Linked DNA regions of Homo sapiens: regions 1, 3, 4, 5 and 6 are each linked to region 2. Evidence: promoter capture Hi-C in human tissues and cell types (Jung and others, 2019). All regions are on one chromosome and are shown on one strand. Each heading gives the region's core, a stretch centred on a gene start or on the middle of the fragment in contact. The rest is flanking DNA. Distances are from core to core; before and after follow the strand shown.

Evidence for each region. Contacts are between HindIII fragments. The study calls those that stand out against the background at their distance.
Region 1: a contact is called between the fragment with the promoter of SPTBN5 here and the fragment with the promoter of RPAP1 in region 2, in 2 of the 25 tissues and cell types used here (mesenchymal stem cells and thymus).
Region 3: a contact is called between a fragment that was not itself captured here and the fragment with the promoter of RPAP1 in region 2, in 1 of the 25 tissues and cell types used here (lymphoblastoid cells).
Region 4: a contact is called between a fragment that was not itself captured here and the fragment with the promoter of RPAP1 in region 2, in 3 of the 25 tissues and cell types used here (IMR-90 fibroblasts, dorsolateral prefrontal cortex and lymphoblastoid cells).
Region 5: a contact is called between a fragment that was not itself captured here and the fragment with the promoter of RPAP1 in region 2, in 1 of the 25 tissues and cell types used here (lymphoblastoid cells).
Region 6: a contact is called between a fragment that was not itself captured here and the fragment with the promoter of RPAP1 in region 2, in 1 of the 25 tissues and cell types used here (mesenchymal stem cells).

Annotation. Positions count from the first base shown.
Region 1 is chr15:41,892,718-41,895,481 of GRCh38, reverse strand. SPTBN5 (spectrin beta, non-erythrocytic 5) reads left to right here and starts at 1,429. Exons shown (of 68, transcript NM_016642.4): 1 at 1,429-1,583; 2 at 1,936-2,200; 3 at 2,421-2,588. The coding sequence starts at 1,985. LOC105370792 (a long non-coding RNA gene) reads right to left here and starts at 2,705. Exons shown (of 4, transcript NR_135681.1): 1 at 2,404-2,705; 2 at 146-255. RefSeq lists an enhancer at 2,585-2,644. The HindIII fragment of the contact is 14,752 bases long and covers 1-2,764 here.
Region 2 is chr15:41,542,821-41,545,520 of GRCh38, reverse strand. It overlaps RPAP1 (RNA polymerase II associated protein 1), which reads left to right and starts at 1,264. Exons shown (of 25, transcript NM_015540.4): 1 at 1,264-1,302. RefSeq lists enhancers at 1,120-1,509, 1,443-2,024 and a silencer at 2,504-2,700. The HindIII fragment of the contact is 9,616 bases long and covers 1-1,669 here.
Region 3 is chr15:41,918,594-41,921,293 of GRCh38, reverse strand. EHD4 (EH domain containing 4) reads left to right here. Exons shown (of 6, transcript NM_139265.4): 4 at 1,672-2,084. Among named protein-coding and RNA genes, the nearest start is that of EHD4-AS1, 1.5 kb to the left of the region's middle. RefSeq lists an enhancer at 1,386-1,885. The HindIII fragment of the contact is 4,716 bases long and covers 1-2,700 here.
Region 4 is chr15:41,803,013-41,805,712 of GRCh38, reverse strand. The region is part of intron 3 of MAPKBP1 (mitogen-activated protein kinase binding protein 1); the gene reads right to left. Among named protein-coding and RNA genes, the nearest start is that of JMJD7, 24 kb to the left of the region's middle. The HindIII fragment of the contact is 5,645 bases long and covers 1-2,700 here.
Region 5 is chr15:42,022,924-42,025,623 of GRCh38, reverse strand. It overlaps a transcript of PLA2G4E not described here. Among named protein-coding and RNA genes, the nearest start is that of PLA2G4E, 3.2 kb to the right of the region's middle. The HindIII fragment of the contact is 5,855 bases long and covers 1-2,700 here.
Region 6 is chr15:41,937,881-41,940,580 of GRCh38, reverse strand. The region is part of intron 3 of EHD4 (EH domain containing 4); the gene reads left to right. Among named protein-coding and RNA genes, the nearest start is that of EHD4-AS1, 18 kb to the right of the region's middle. The HindIII fragment of the contact is 6,898 bases long and covers 1-2,700 here.

The DNA of each region.
Region 1 (2,764 bases), core at 180-2,679, 350 kb before region 2:
GAATGTGGATGATGGAGAATGGGAAAGGACGTTCAAAGCTGAAAGAGCAGCTGAAGCCCAGCCTTGGGGCAGGAGAGCTCTGGTCCTGCTCAGGAAATGGTGAGTGGCCCATGGAGAGCACCCAGAGTGAGGGGGGCAGACTAGCCTGGTTAGGTAAGCTGGCAGGCTTCCAAGGCCTGGCTGAGGCAAGGTCTGGCAAGTCTGGATTTTCCTTCCCAGGCTGTGGGAGGCTTCACAGGCACGAGCAGAGCTGCACTGTGGAAAGGTGCGGGGTGGTGGTGTCCAGGATGCCGAGTTAGGGGGTCCGTGATGAGGACCCCCAGGGGCAGTGAGGGCAGAAGGGGGGGTGCACGGGAGGACCGCCACAGCAACTGCTGCGAGCAAGGGAGGGACGCAGGGTGTCTGGAAGCCAGCCGCTGCAGAAGGGGCCTGGCAGGGAGAGGACAGCAGGAGAGGAAGCGTCTCTCAGACGCAGGAAGCCGCACCCCACCCGAGACCACGGCACCTCTCAGCGTCACCCCTGACTGCCTGCAGTGGGCCCAGGCGGTTCAAGTGTGACTCATCCCTAGCCCAGCTCTCAAGGGCGCGCTGAGCGGCTGTCCTGCTGTGGGCTGTGGCTGCCAGGAGCGCCTCCCTGAGGAGCGGGCTGTCGCTTCAGAGGCTCCAGGGCCGCTGGAAGACACCCACACACACACACCCCAGCCCACACTGCTACCCTGAGTTTAGCCAGAGGCGGGTGAGACCCCCAGAATTAGAACTCGCCTTCACTCTGGCATGTAGTCCACGGCTGCTCGGGGAGGAAGGGATGGGCGCCCACCAGCTCCCTCTGCACCCCTGCCTCCGAGCCCCGGGCCACGGCCAGCTCTGTGGAGCCCAGAGTTAACACCGTGTCTCTAATTTTGGAGGAGACTCCACAGCCCTCGCAGTTCCAGGTCACCCCTTCCTCCAGGGAGCCTACCCTTCAGCCCCGGGCTAGGCAGGCTGCACTCTGGCAGGGCCTGGAAAGCCAAGCCCAGGGTCTGTGAGGCCCTCAGTCTATGGGCTGTTCCCTGGGGGTGAATGAGAAGACCACGGCCCAGGACGCTCCCTCATCCCCTCGCCCTGGGTGCTCACAGAGAGGCCCCAAGAGGGTACAGAGGGCAGTCTCAGATTGGGAAGTGCGTCCACAGGCTTCCCACAGAGGCTCTGCCCTTTGGTACCTCCTACGCAGACTGCAGCACCCCATGCGGTGGCAGGGCCGCTCCATGGGCCTCTGCGTCCTGGGAGCCAGGACCCCCACCTGGAGTTGGAGAAGTTGCTGGCGGGGAAGGGAGGATGATGAAGGAGGACATCATCTGGCAATGGCCCTGGAGCATTCCTGAACCACCCCCTCCCTGTCTGGGCCACGCCCTGTGGCAGGTGGGAGGACAATGCCGCCTGTGTGCCGTCACCCCAGCACGCTGGCTCAAGGGGAGGGCTGTGGTGCAGCCCTGCTCCAGCCTTGGCCTCTCCTGATGTCCCTCTCCCTCCCTCCACAGCCCCTGCTATCTGCCATCTCCATCCGTCCAGCTGGGCCGCCTCTGTGGAACCCAGGCATCACCAAGGTAAGCAGCCCCTGCTATCTACCATCTCCATCCGTCCAGCAGAGCCGTCTCTGTGGGACCCAGGCATCACCAAGGTAAGCAGTTTCCTGTCTTCCTTCCACCTGTCCCAGTCACTGTGGTGGAGGGACCTGGCAGCAGGGGCTCTGAGAAGAAGAATCTGGAAGGTGGGGTGGGGCAAAGGGGGCCCTGGGCCATTCAAGCACAGGGGACCAGAAGCACTGGCCCTTACCTGGCTGGGCTCCAAGCTGCAACCCCCATGAAATGTGAGGACAGTCTGGCAAGGCGGGACCCCAGGCCCCTGGTAGAGGGGCCATCTCCATTCACATCATCCCCTAATCTGCATGCCCTCCAGGTTTAGGGAGCCATCCAGCAGCTCCTCATCCCCAAAGTCTGCAGGGCTGATGGCTGGTCAGCCCCACAGTCCCCGGGAGCTCCTCGGGGCTGCAGGGCACCGCAGCAGGAGGCCCAGCACAGAACTCCGGGTCCCGCCCAGTCCAAGTCTCACCATGGACTCTCAGTACGAGACGGGCCACATTCGCAAGCTACAGGCCCGGCACATGCAGATGCAGGAGAAGACTTTCACCAAGTGGATCAATAACGTCTTCCAGTGCGGCCAGGTGAGTATAGCCAGCTGTGACCCACAGCCCACCCATACCAGGCCCCCAGCTCTGGCCAGTGGGCCTCCGGGGTGAGCTGTGGGGTCATCTGCCTGAGGCCAAGCTGAGGCCAGAGCTCCTTCTTCCAAAGCAGCTGCTCTGGGTCGTACCTCTCAGGTCCCAGGATGGGAGGACAGGTGAGGCTGGGCTGACCCCATACTTACCCCTGTCCCCTCCCCAGGCGGGCATCAAGATCCGGAACCTGTACACAGAGCTGGCTGACGGCATCCACCTCCTGCGGCTGCTGGAGCTCATCTCAGGGGAGGCCCTGCCACCCCCGAGCCGGGGCCGCCTGCGTGTGCACTTCCTGGAGAACAGCAGCCGAGCTCTGGCCTTCCTCAGGGCCAAGGTGGGCCCCAGGGAAAGGGGTCTGGGATGGTGCTGGGGCAGGCAGCTGGGACAGGCTGAACTACTGGGTCACCTTTCCTGCGCCAGGCCACTGGGCAGAACAGAGGAGCTGGGGCCTGAGTACAGGAGGAGTGGCTGGGACACAGAGGAGCAGAAGCCACGCCCTCCTCGCACAGC
Region 2 (2,700 bases), core at 15-2,514:
CAGTTGATTCTGGTGCCTGTTAAAGTTGGAAAGCCACTGGACTAACATTGGCTGCCCCATGATGTCCTTTGGTCTAGAAATGATTTACTTAAGGTCCTACTATGTGCATGGCAACACGTTGGGTGCTCAGTATTTAGATGCAAAGTACAAGGTCTGGTGCCCACAAGGAACTGACAGTCTATTCAAGGGAACAGGACATAAGCCTGTGAAAAGGTAACCGGTGACAGTTGGTAGTTGGCAGTGTGTTCTTAGCATACCACACAACTGGTGCAGGCGGTGAGATTCCAGGTGAATCCAAGGAAAGTTTGGTGAGTAGGCGTGGCTGGCAGAGGTTTTAGAGTTGACGCCAGCTAGGCCTTAAAGAGTTATCCTTTGGAGACAGGGGTGGCAGGGAAAAGAGGGAGGATTTCCAAGAAGGGAGAGTGGGATGAACAAAGGCAAGATTCTGGAGAAGATGATAACCTTGCTAGCAAGGAAGCTTTATTCCCTCTCTTCTCACCACCACTATTTCTGCAGTGCACACTGGCAGTGTTCTTTCCTTGGGCCTTTTTCATGGTTACCTTCTAGCTCTTCCATAAACACATTCGTCACGTTGGGGTGTGTGTGTGTGTCCACGTTTCTGTGTGCTGCCGTGGGCGTGGGTGCTGGGATGTGGGATGTGGTAACACTGGCTGGTGAGTGCAGAGGGACGTCTGAGGAACGCTGTGTCCCTGCCAGGGGTGTCGTAAGTGCAGAAGGGGCTGTGCCTGCTGTACATCAGAAGCATGTGTGGGCCAGGCGCGGTGGCACATCCTGTAATCACAGCACTTTGGGGGGCCGAGGCGGGCGGATTACCTAAGGTCGGGAGTTCGAGACCAGCTTGGCCAACATGGTGAAACCCCGTCTCTACTAAAAATACAAAAATTAGCCAGACGTGGTGGCGGGCACCTGTAATCCCAGCTACTCGGGAGGCTGAGGCACAAGAATCGCTTGAGCCCGGGAGGCGGAGGTTGCAGTGAGCCGAGATTGCGCCACAGCACTCCAGCCTGTGCGACAGAGCAAGACTCTGTCTCAAAAAAAAAAAAAAAAAAAAAGGATGTGTGTTCTGGGTGATGGTATAGAGCTTACGTGGGGGTAATAAACCGCCAGCCGCGCAGCACCGCGCTCACCAGTCCGCTGCACTGAACAAGCAAAGCCCAGAATGCTCCGAGATAAGACCGGGAGAGGCGGGGCTGGGCTGCGGGGCGGAAGCTGGAATCTGGCGGCGGCGGAAACGCGATCTCTGCGGGGCAAGATGGCGGCGCCCAGACAGGCCTGGAGCACGTAGGTGGCGGGGCTGGAGGGACGGATTTCAGGTGATCTGGGAGGAGGACCCAGGGTAGCGTGTCCAGTTTCTTTGCTGGAACCTGCCTGCGGGCCTTTGGTCTGTAAGGGAGCAACTGTGGCCTCCTCTGTGCATAGATCTCGGGCACGGCCCTTCAACGGGCGGCGAAAGCTGCGACTCGATGATTCCTCATTGTAGAGTTGGGTGGTCCAGGAGGCTTAACTGGAGCCCTTGACCTGAGCGGTAAGGGCAGTCACGCGTCCCGACTCGGGATTGGATCCTGGCTCTGGAGGATAGGCTGCAATGTAAGAGCCCCAGAGACTCCTCAGAGGCCAACATAAACCCAGAGGTCCATTGTTAGGACTACTTTTTTTTACGAGTTACTCTTTAGGCATTACTCTTTAGGATTACAGGCGTGAGCCACCGCGCCCGGCCAACCCATTCTTATTCTATTAATAACTGAAAATGTTATCACTTCTAGCACTGATTGGTTCTGGACAAATCTGCGCTGGATTTGTGGGGAAACACACTGGTGGCTTTACTTAGGACTAAAATAATTGTTACTGAGGTTTATTTATATAAGTAACAGGCACTGGGCTAGGCGTTTTGCGTGTATAGTCATTTAAATCCTCACACATTTCCTATTATATAGGACCTGTTACTCACATTTTACAGTTGTGGAAATGGGACTTAAGACAGCATAGAGGCCGCGCACGGTGGCTCACGCCTGTAATCCCAGCACTTTGGGAGGCCGAGGCGGGCGGGTCACCTGAGATCAGGAGTTCGAGACCAGTCTGGCCAACATGGTGAAACCCCGTCTGTACTAAAAAAATACAAAAAATTAGCCGGGCGTGGTGGCAGGCGCCTGTAATCCCAGCTACTCGGGAGCCTGAGGCAGGAGAATCACTTGAACCCAGGAGGCGGAGGTTGCAGTGTGCCGAGATCGTGCTATTGCACTCCAGCCTGGGCAACAAGAGGGAGAATCTGTCTCAAAAAAAAAAAAAAAAAAAAAAAAAGGACAGCATTGATAATTTGCCTAATTTCGCACATTTAGTGCATTTAGTAAGTAGCGGAACTGGTATTTGACTTCTGGCCTATTGATTCCAAAACTGGTGCCCATAACCCCCTGGCTCTCTTTGTGATGTAGGTATGGCGCACCCTATGAAGTGAGCTGGACTTTGCTTTTGGATCACATGAATCCATGGATAAGTAGGAATTGTTTCTGCTTATGTAGACTCTTATAGGAGTGAATTGTTACCATACTATGGATTCTCAGTTCATCTAGTTCAGCCTTCCTTAGGGCCTTTGGGTAGGCATTGGGGTAGGAGACTTTTTCCTTGTTTGTTGGTCAGACTGCCCAACAATTAGATATGGTTATCTGCCCTTTGGCTATATAA
Region 3 (2,700 bases), core at 201-2,700, 380 kb before region 2:
TCTTCCTTATCCCCAAGGAGTCAGGGAGTGCCGCAGTGAGACAGAACAGAGAAATGAAAAGCATGAACTGGAAGTATCCACGCGTGTGGCGGCATAAACACCACACTCAGGACAGCGGCCTGCTAGTGGGGGGAAGGGCTCAGGGAGGGGTGCACAGGGGGCTTCAGCGTTACCAACTGTCTTGTTTTCTTTATGAAAAATGGACCTGAATCCAGTTTGCTTGTTCAGCTATTCCTCTAACACCTGTTCTTCAAATGCATGGAAACCTTAGTCCGCAGACCCTCTTTATTTTCACCTAATAGATTATTCACCTCAGATACTTTTTCCTCTGCCTTGGATTCACACCTTCTCCACCCCCACAGCCAACCAGGGTCTCACAATCGATGTTGACATTTTTGTATTTGTGCTATAGTCTGTATCCACAGATGGTTGAGTATTTTGTATTTTAACATTTTACATGAATGTTATCATGCTGTATATGTCCTTTTGAAACTAAGCTTTTACTCTTGTTCTTTTCTGGAGATTTACCTGTGTTGACAAGTGAAGATCTAGTTCCTTCTCACCACCGTATGGTATTTTGTTATCTAAAGAAACGATACTTGGTTTTAAAACATATCTGAAATAGCAAACAAAGCAAAGTGTCAACATTTGTTAAAATTATGTGGTAGGTACATCAGCATTCATTATATGACTTACAGATGTTTATGTATGTTTGAAAGTTTTCAAAATCTAAAAGAAGAGGGGAGACGACCCCTAGCATGGGGGTCAGGCAGGTGACATCTCAGCACTAGCTGGGCTGGATTGAGACTCTGCTTCTGCAACTAGTCAGACTGAGATTAAAAGTCAACTTTGTGGGCTTGGCCTCCTCTTGTTTGCTTTTCGTGGGAATCTGCCTCCCTGGGGAAAGGCCTGAGAGCCTTGACCTTGGGCTGAAGAGTGTTTATGCAGCTGCATGATTTGTGGAGGTGGTCAGAATAGGCTGGACAGAATTTGCTGTGGGCCAGGCCATTTTAAAAAAAGAAATTGGCAAGAGACCATTTTACACAATGGCTGTGATACGTAATGTTAAAAAAATATTCACAATATACCTGAGTTATAAATAGTCCAAAGATAAATATTGATCACAACACTGGCTGGGCCAACCTTTGACCTCCTCAGCACTCTACAAACTTGGGTTAATTGAAGGCGATGCCTCTTCTGTTATGCTTACTGGATACCCCCATGGGATGCCAGGTGGCCTCTGGTTCTCTTTCTTCTGTATTTGGGGCTTTCAGAAAAGTGAGACTTTTCAGAAGTAAGATCTTTTGACCCATGGCCTGTGTTTTTATAAAACCATTGATCAATTCTGCCATCAAGCAAAAGGTCTGTATTAGGTGAAATAAAACACTCATGAGGACTAAATGAAATCGCAGATATGAAAGTCAGCAATTCCCAAAGTGACCATGAGCCCCATTCTCTTTCCTCCCTCCTCCTGTGGAAGGGCTCCCCAGGTCCTTCCCACCCGGATTCATCCAGCCCGTGATTTTCATGTCACCAGGCCTCCACTGCCTCCAGGTTGGAGACAGGGCTCTCTCCCTGGCAGCTGCTGGAGAGCGAGACTGTTCCTGAGCCGCCCATTAAACGTGTCTCCTGCAGCAGTGGCTACACTGACGTGTCCTTCTCTCCACCCAGGCTATGACTTCTGCCAGGTCCTGCAGTGGTTTGCCGAGAGGGTGGACAGGATCATCCTGCTCTTTGACGCTCACAAGCTGGACATCTCAGATGAATTCTCAGAGGCCATCAAGGCCTTCCGGGGCCAGGACGACAAGATCCGTGTCGTGCTGAACAAGGCCGACCAAGTGGACACGCAGCAGCTGATGCGGGTCTACGGGGCCCTCATGTGGTCCCTAGGCAAGGTCATCAACACGCCCGAGGTACTGCGCGTCTACATTGGCTCCTTCTGGGCGCAGCCCCTGCAGAACACGGACAACCGCCGGCTCTTCGAGGCTGAGGCCCAGGACCTCTTTAGAGACATCCAGAGCCTCCCCCAGAAGGCAGCGGTGCGCAAGCTCAACGACCTCATCAAGCGAGCGAGGCTGGCCAAGGTAAGCCAGGAGATGCCTTGCACAGAGGCCAGGGGCTGGGACTCTGCTGTCTCCTCTCCAGAGGCAAGATGGGTGGGAGGAGGCTTCGTTCCAGAAGGCTTAAGGAATGAACATGCGCTAGGTTAAGAATACAGCCTCGAGGTCAGGTGGCCCTGCTGACACCCTAGCTCCTGGCTCTGCACTCCTGGGCAGATGACTAACCCTGTTCTCCAATCTGTACCATGGAGCTAATAAGAGCACTTCACAAGAACTTGGGGTGACAGTTGGTCAGTGTGACAGAGCACTTGGCATAGTGCCTGGTGCACAGGGAGGGGGATCAATCAGTGCACCCACTACATGGTAGCTGTTAGGATGTCAGGACGATAGGAATATAACCAACCAAACCTGAAAGAGGTGGCATTGGTGAGACCAACAGGATGCTGAGAGGCCACTGCTAGTCCCCGTGCACCAAAGGCCAGTGTTACCACCTGGATCCAGGGGAGCCCTGGGAAGAAGTATGGCTCAGTCTTACTCTTGGAGTGTGCTGGTTTTGGGTCACCCCCGCATCCTCATTCTGGGCTGCGGGCTGTTAGCCTGCATGCCTGGGCTCCTGGCTCGCCTGCCTCATAGCTGAGCC
Region 4 (2,700 bases), core at 192-2,691, 260 kb before region 2:
GGAGGAGAATTCTGTCACACCCAGTGCAATGCTTCAAAGCTGAGGATCTCAGAATCAATTTTAACATGGGCTGAGGAAATGGAGGGCCTCCTCAGGAGAGCAGGGGTTCCCTCTTCTCCTCCCCACTTAAATCAACCAAGAGGTCTCTTCTTAGCTGCCAGATACACCCCGTCACCTTGCTGGGACACTTCCCATCCCAGCGGGAGAGGAGCAGCTGTGCGCAGGGCACTCACCCAGGCCATTCTGGCATAGGAGCCAGGAGAAACCCATTCTCAGGACTGGGCACAGGGGCACAGGGGCACAGGGGCTGTGCTGGGCTTGAAGGCCCATCAACCTTCCACCAGCTGGCTGAGGAAAAGGCCCAACTCAATTAAGGGTGTTCAACTCAATTAAGTCTCTCAAAGGGGCTGTCTGGCATCCTCTAGTAGGGGGGCTTCCCGTGGGGAAACAACGGCCAAGGGATGTAGGAGCCACTAGGACAGGCTCCATGCTCAGCCTGGAGCTCCTACCCACCTCTGCCTGACACACTGCCCACCCTCCTTTCCTGTGCTGTTCCATTTCCTTTCAGAAAACTTTGTTTTGGTTTGATATTCGCCTCCGGGCCTCAGAGAATTTTCTGAGTTTTGTTTCTCTCCTTGTTTCTAGGATACCTGAGCTGGCTCCCAAAGCAACAGGCACAGGAGGAACAAGAGCGTGGGGGCTGGGGGCAGTGTAAGGATGATCAGATAAGAAAAGCAGGGAGACAAGGAGGGAGGTGAAGAACCTGCTTGTGCTCACACAGAATCTGGTGGCCCCCAACATCACAGCAGCACATCAGGGAGTTCTAGAACACAGCAAAACTCAAACACCCAGAAAAGAAGCCATTTGCACAGACAACTTCAAGTTCTAAGAAATCAAAAGGTCAGGGAACAGATTAGGGGCACTGCCCAGGGATGGCCTAAGCCAAGCATACACGCTTAGGAAACCTACTAGAGGTTCCATCAGGAAAGCCTGTACACCATCTGGAAGGATCATGACTCCCAGGCACATGCACTGGGCTGAGACCTGCTCATAAACATGCATAAGCACATGCCCTTAAAGGCCAGGCCTGGAGTCCAGGGGTGTGTGAGGAAGAAAGCGGGCAGGACTCCACACTCTCCAGGGCAGGGACACAGGTCTCAGCATGCACCAAGCAGCACCCCAAGGCCTTTTTTGCCTGTGCTACATCCAGCCCCAGCCCCACCTCCAACAAGAGGGAACCTGGCTTTCCCAGGCAGAGGCAAGAACAAGTGGAATTCCCCTGAGGCAGGCTGCACAAACTTATCCAGTAGAGAGGTCTTTCCATCAGCTTGCTTCTCTAGGGGAAAATGGAGCCTAGCCCAGCCTTTGCCAGGCAGAGCCCGTGTGGCTCCCACAGCACCCTTACTGCAGCCATTAAACACCAGAGGACCACTTGGGAGAGACACTGACCCCAAACCCAGGGGCAGAAGTCTCCCTTGCACAGACTGAGCTGCCCATAAATGGGGCTCTTCTCATTCAAAGGGCAGGTAGGCAGCTTAGAGGAAAAGCAATTTGTTAAAAATAAGCAGAAAGTGGCCGGGCACAGTGGCTCACACCTGTAATCCCAGCACTTTGGGAGGCCAATGTGGGCAGATCACCTAAGGTCGGGAGTTTGAGACCAGCCTGACCAACATGGAGAAACCCCATCTCTACTAAAAATACAAAATTAGCTGGGCATGATGGCGCATGCCTGTAATCCCAGCTACTCTGGAGGCTGAGGCAGGAGAATTGCTTGAACCCAGGAGGCGGAGGTTGCGGTGAGCTGAGATCGTGCCATTGCACTCCAGCCTGGGCAAGAAGAATGAAACTCTGTCTCAAAAAAAAACAGTGTGGTCTCCCCCTACTCTGTGCCATTTTAACAATCAGAGCTCTACAGTCATACTACTTGGGTTAGAACCCCATTACACACACTAGCTATGTTACCTCAAGCAAACTCCTTAACCCTTTTGGTTTTTTTAAGAGGCAGGGTTTCACTGTGTCACCCAAGCTGGAGTGCAATGGCACGATCATAGTTCACTGCAGCCTTCACCTCCTGGGCTCAAGCAATCCTCCTGCCTCAGCCTCCCCAGTTGCTAGGACTACAGGCACATGCCACCATACCCAGCTAATTTTTTTTATTTTTACTTTTTGGTAGAGACAGGGTTCTCACTATGTTGCCCAGGCTGGTTTCAAATTCTTGGTCTCAAGCAATCCTCCCACCTTGGCTTCCCAAAGCCACTGCACCCTGCCTGCTTAACCTTTTTTTTTTTTTTTTTTTTTTGAGATGGAGTCTTGCTCAGCCGCTCAGGCTGGAGTGCAGTGGCACGATCTCGGCTCACTGCAACCACCGTCTCCCAGGTTCAAGCGATTCTCCCAGCTCAGCCTCCCGAGTAACTGGGACTACCAGCACCCGCCATCACGCCAGGCTAATTTTTGTATTTTGCTAGAGACAAGATTTCACCATGTTGGCCAGGCTGGTCTTGAACTCCTGACCTCAGGTGATCCGCCCACCTTGCCCTCCCAAAGTGCTAGGATTATAGGCGTGAGCCACTGCACTTGGCCTGCTTGACCTCTTTGGATCTCAATTTCCTCCTCTAAAATATGAGGGTGATAATAGTTGCTCAGAGTATTAAATAATTCATATAAAGTGCTTAAAAAGTACCTGGCATAGAATAAGTACAG
Region 5 (2,700 bases), core at 94-2,593, 480 kb before region 2:
GTCTCTTGGAACTGCCAAACTTCGCCTGCATACAATGGGTCCCAGTAAAACATTGGGCCTTAATAAGCACATTCCTTTCCCTTCAGGTGCACTAAGATAGGGAAGCTAAAAGCAGACTCCAGTGGGGGGTGGGGGGAGGTATGCCTGCAGCTACAGGAAGATGTATGGGAACAGACACACAACTCTCCCTCCCAGATAAGCACAACAAAGAGACACAGAAGCAGTCCAAGCCTCTGATAAACTCTCCCACTCTGAATCCTTAAAAACTCTTAGTCTGTAAGAGAGTATGCCTCTGACCTAACTTGGCCAGAAGCCCCTCTCAGGTTTGTTTTCCCTTAAGTAAACCTGTCTTACTGGCGAGTCACCTTTCATGTTTCTTTCCTCTTTCTTTCTTTTCTTTTCTTTTCCTTTTTTTTTTTTTCTTTTTTGAGACAGAGTTTCACTCTGTCTCCCAGGCTGGAGTGCAGTGGTGCAATCTTGGCTCACTGCAAGCTCCGCCTCCCGGATTCATGCCATTCTCCTGCCTCAGCCTCCTGAGTAGCTGGGACTACAGGTGCCCGCGACCATGCCCGGCTAATTTTTTGTGTAGTGGAGATGGGGTTTCACTGTGTTAGCCAGGATGGTCTCGATCTCCTGACCTCGTGATCCACCCACCTCAGCCTCCCAAAGTGCTGGGATTACAGGCGTGAGCCACCGCGCCTGGCTCCTCTTTAATTCTTACAGTTTCACGACTGATTTCACATACTTCCTTTATTGTATGCTAAAATTCCGTATATACGTAGAGCTGCTCCTGGGTCCTACCTGGTTTATGGAAGGTATTGGAATCCAGAGTTTGTTGGCAAAGACTGGAAAAGCGTTAGGTGCTTTTCAGCAGAAGAACGAGAGGTTGAAGGGAGTGTTTCTAAAGCTCACAAGCTGTAGGAGGCAGAGAGGAGGCTGGAGACAGGTGCTGCTGGCAGGAGGTGGGAAGGAAGGGACAGGGCCCTGAACCACCTGGAAAGCGGACAGTGAGGAGTCATCCTTGCTGGGCCCACAGGGGAGTGGCATCCACTGGGCTTCTGGGAGGAATGTGCTTTTCAATATTGGGTTACCTGAGGCCAAGAGTCTGCTGGCAGAGGCAGTGCCTGGTCACCCCATCTGAAGTGTCAGGTAACAAGCCTGGCGACAGGCCTGGAGTCGGAGGCCTCAGCGCACACAGCAGCAAGGCTGGGCCCAAGTAGCCCAGGGGATCTGAGGATCCTGGGGCTCCCTGGTCATCAGTGCTGGGTGGAAAGGAACTGTTCCCTCCCCTTGCTGCAGAGACAAGTTCAGAATTTCCACACAGAAGGAACTCTACCAAAAGAGCACTTGACTTGGAGCAGCAGTTGTGTACCAAGATTGCTGCTTTGGCACCCGCACCCTGGCGTGGGGATGTCACTGTTTGCCTGACACTCCTTACTCACTGTCCCAGTCCACTTCCAACTCCCCGAGTCCTCTGCTCTGCTCCCCTCCCATCCCACTTAGAGCCCACACTGGCCAATTTACCATTTAATTTTACCCCCTTTCCTCCCCTTTCTAGATTTTACATTCTTGGTTGTTTTATTCCAGACCCCACCTGAGTGGTCAGCACAGAGATGGGCACCCAGCAGGCAGTCGGTAAATACTTTCCAGTAGATCAGTCCACTTAGTTCAAGGTCACACTGGCTCCCACCTGGGACAGAGGCACCACAGAGGATGTGGGGGAAGAAACTTCCACCAAGCTCCCATCAGCCCCCTATTCAATTTGATTTAATTCAACTAAAATGAGTTGAGACCCTGCTCTGAGGAGTTGATAGACAGTGAGGAAACATACGAGTTGGAGTGGGGGTTTGTGGCTGGGCTTCTTCAGTGAGAAGAGGCCAAATAGGAGGCCTTGAGGAATGCCCTGGTGTTTGGGGCTCAACCTGGCCTATCTGATTGGGAAGGGTGGGGGAGTGGGAGGGATGGGGAGACAGATGGGACCCCATGACTTTCAGGACAGTATAGTGCTGTGGGTTGAGTTGCCACAGAAACTCCTGGACTTAGCTTGTATGGCCTGTTCTGGCCTTATCTCTCCCTTAACTTTCCACCCTACTTCCCCTATCCCAGATGGTTCACATCTCACCTCCTAATTGATCCCTTGTTTCAACATCAATCATCCTTGCCTTCTTAAAGTTCAGCTCTCCTGCTCAAAAACCATCAATAGCCCCCTACTGCTTAGAGACTACGTCCAAATATAAAGTATGGCCTTTTAGGGTCATGATTATTTGGACCCTAATCTAGTATGGAATGAAGGGTGACCTCTGAACACAGGGCAGACTGGGTCCAAATGCAGGGCCAGAACCAAGTTGGTGGTATCTGTGGGACCTCTTCATGTGCCTGGCCCTCCAGAGAGCAGAGGGGCCTTACCTGGGTGTTTTCCAGATTTGTTCTTTCACAAAGCCTCCTTCTTTCTGCCCAATTTCTACCACCCCTGTGTTCCACTCTCTACCCCCAGTATCTCTTCCCACACAACTCACTGCACAGACACCAGACCACCTGCATACATAAGCGTGCCCTGCTTTCTGGCCTCCCTGCCTGTGTTCATGCTGTTTCTTCCTCCTAGGATGCCTCTCTCTTCCTCCTAGTGGTGCCTAGGCTCACTAGCTGTTGAAATCCCATTCCTCGTCTAAAGCCCAATTCAGATGCCACCTCCTCTGTAAG
Region 6 (2,700 bases), core at 195-2,694, 390 kb before region 2:
CCACAAGCGATGACAGCACGACGGGCCACAGCTGTGGTTCCCAAGCCCGGTGCCACACGGTGTTAGGGGCGCAGCTGGTGGTGGAAGTCACTCAGCTGACATTTTCAACACACTAACCCCAAAGAATGCATACTGTTGTAAAGCAGCTTCAGCTCAAACGATTGCAAACAGTGCCACGTTCTCACGTATACTCACACCTACACCCAGCTTCGTAAGACCAGCTTCATAAGACCACAGCCCCACCTTTGCCAAGAATTAATGTCAACATGGGATAATAGACTGGGTACAAACTGTGACCCCACAAGATGTTTAAAGCATCCCCCACTGACTTTATTGGCGGGTCTTTGCCTCCCTTATGGGCATTGTGCCTGGGAAGGAGGAAAGGTGGCCGCTTGTGTACTGCCCTCCACTGCTCCTCCTTTCCCCTTTGTGCGGTTGATGATTAACCCTCAAAAGCTGAGTGGCTGGGCGCGGTGGCTCACGCCTATAATCCCAGCCCTTTGGGAGGCCGAGGCACGAGGATCCCTTGAGTTCAGGAGTTAGAGACCAGCTTGGCCAACATAGTGAGACCTCATCCCTATTTATTTAAAAAAAAAAATACATAGCATTCCAGGGGAGTAAACGTCATCTAAATCTCCTGTTTAGGAGCCGTATAAATGAAACCCATGAGGGCAATTGATTTTGGAGCAATTTTTAGTATACTACTCCGTATGGAAACTCCTTACCCCTCAAGTTTTCCTTAGTTCAATTATGGTTAGCAGAAAATCTTTTTTTTTTTTTTTTTTTTTGAGACGGAGTCTTGCTGTGTCACCAAAGCTGGAGTGCAATGGAGTGCTCACTGCAGCCTCTGCCTCGCAGGATCAAGTGATTCTCCTGCCTCAGCCTCCTGAGTAGCTGGGACTACAGGTGCCTGCCACCATGCCTGGCTAATTTTTGTATTTTTAGAAGTGACGGGGTTTCACCATATTGATTCTTGAGGGCTTTCCTTAACATTTCCTTAACATTGTCTAGGAAGACTTAAAGATGTTTGTATATAAATGTTAAAATGATAATCAGTATGGTAACCATATTGGCCAAACTGGTCTCAAACTCCTGACCTCAGGTGTGATCCACCCGCCTCGGCCTCCCAAAGTGCTGGGATTACAGGTGTGAGCCACCATGCCTGGCCATTGGCAGAAAATCTTTAGGGACAACAGACTAGGTTAGTTTAGTTACTAACCTGTAGCTTTCCTGGCTGACGTGAAGTGTTGAATTCCCATCAAGCAAGGATAAAAGTGTTCTGATATATTTATAATAATAATATTCTGATCAAGTAATAGCTTCCTAAAAGTCCTACAAACTTTTCTTGATTTCTTTTCTTGTATTTTAGTAGCCAATGAAAGAATGTTTGGATTCCTGCGGTTTTCTAAATTGCTTTCTTGAAGTGTGTGGGTAAATCTGAGTTGGTTCACTCTTCAGAACATCCTTTGTCCTTGGTGATAGCAGCCAGGTGTTTGACTCTGCGATGAGAAGAAAGAGCACCTTTATCCACACGCATAGCATTTTCCTTCCCACTCGACCTCTTATCATGCTGGCCGCTGAAATACTGTTTCCTAGAATACTATTGAGTCCATGCTGAACCTAAACATAATCTAGGATATATTTCTAGAGTTAGCATGAACACAAGTGTGTTCCCAGCTACTTAGTACAAACCTCCGGATTCTGACTCCAATCATAACATCCTTTGAAAAATTATAATGTAGCAACTGGTATTCTTATCAATCTATTTAGCATTTGGCATTTTCAAGGTGCTGTTTTAACCACAGATTATTCCTATGGTTTCTTGAGAATATGAGGTTTTGCGTAGCCTTCAATAGACTTGATTTTGGTAATAAAAATAGTACAGCTTCTCCCTTTTAAAAATTTAAATAACTCTAGAAGGAAAAAGCTCTATCTAAATTTTCTAACAGATCGACTTATTCTCTCAGGAACAACAGCTGTCAAATGAAAATTCGAGAGTGTCTTTTCCTGATGTTTAAGCTCTCGCCTCTTAATCCCAGCCTATTCATTATAAACCAATGAATAGAACTGGGAAGACAATGAAAAATAAAAGGACAGAAAATGCCCTGCTGGTAAAAGCAGTGGACAGTAATAGTACATGAAGCCGGGAGGATCTAACTGCACTTCAGGTAACATGACGGGCAATAACAGAAACTTCAGAATCACTGATTACCATTTTAACGTCTATATACAAACATCTTTAAGTCCTCCTAGGCAATGTTAAGGAGATGTTAAGGAAAGCCCTCAAGAATCAAAAAGGCGCCTGGGTAGTGATATAAACAGGAACAGGCTGTTTCAAGGGCCTGCCAACACAGCTAAGGTGCTCAAACACAATACAGGTTGAACATCTTGAAACTGAAAATTCAAAATCCAAAATCCTCCAAAATCCAAAACTTTTTGACGTGATGCCACAAGTGGAAAATTCTACACCTGACCTCATGTGACGGGGCACGATCCAAACTTTGTTTCATGCACAAAATTATTTTAAATGTTCTGTAAAATTACCTTTAGGCCATCTGTGTATGGTGTCTATGAAACATAAATGAATTTAGTGTTTAGGCTTGGGTCCCTTTCCCAAGATCTCTCATTATATATGTATGTGCAGATATTCCCCAATCAGAAAATCTGAAATCCAAAACACTTCCAGTCCCAACCTTTTCG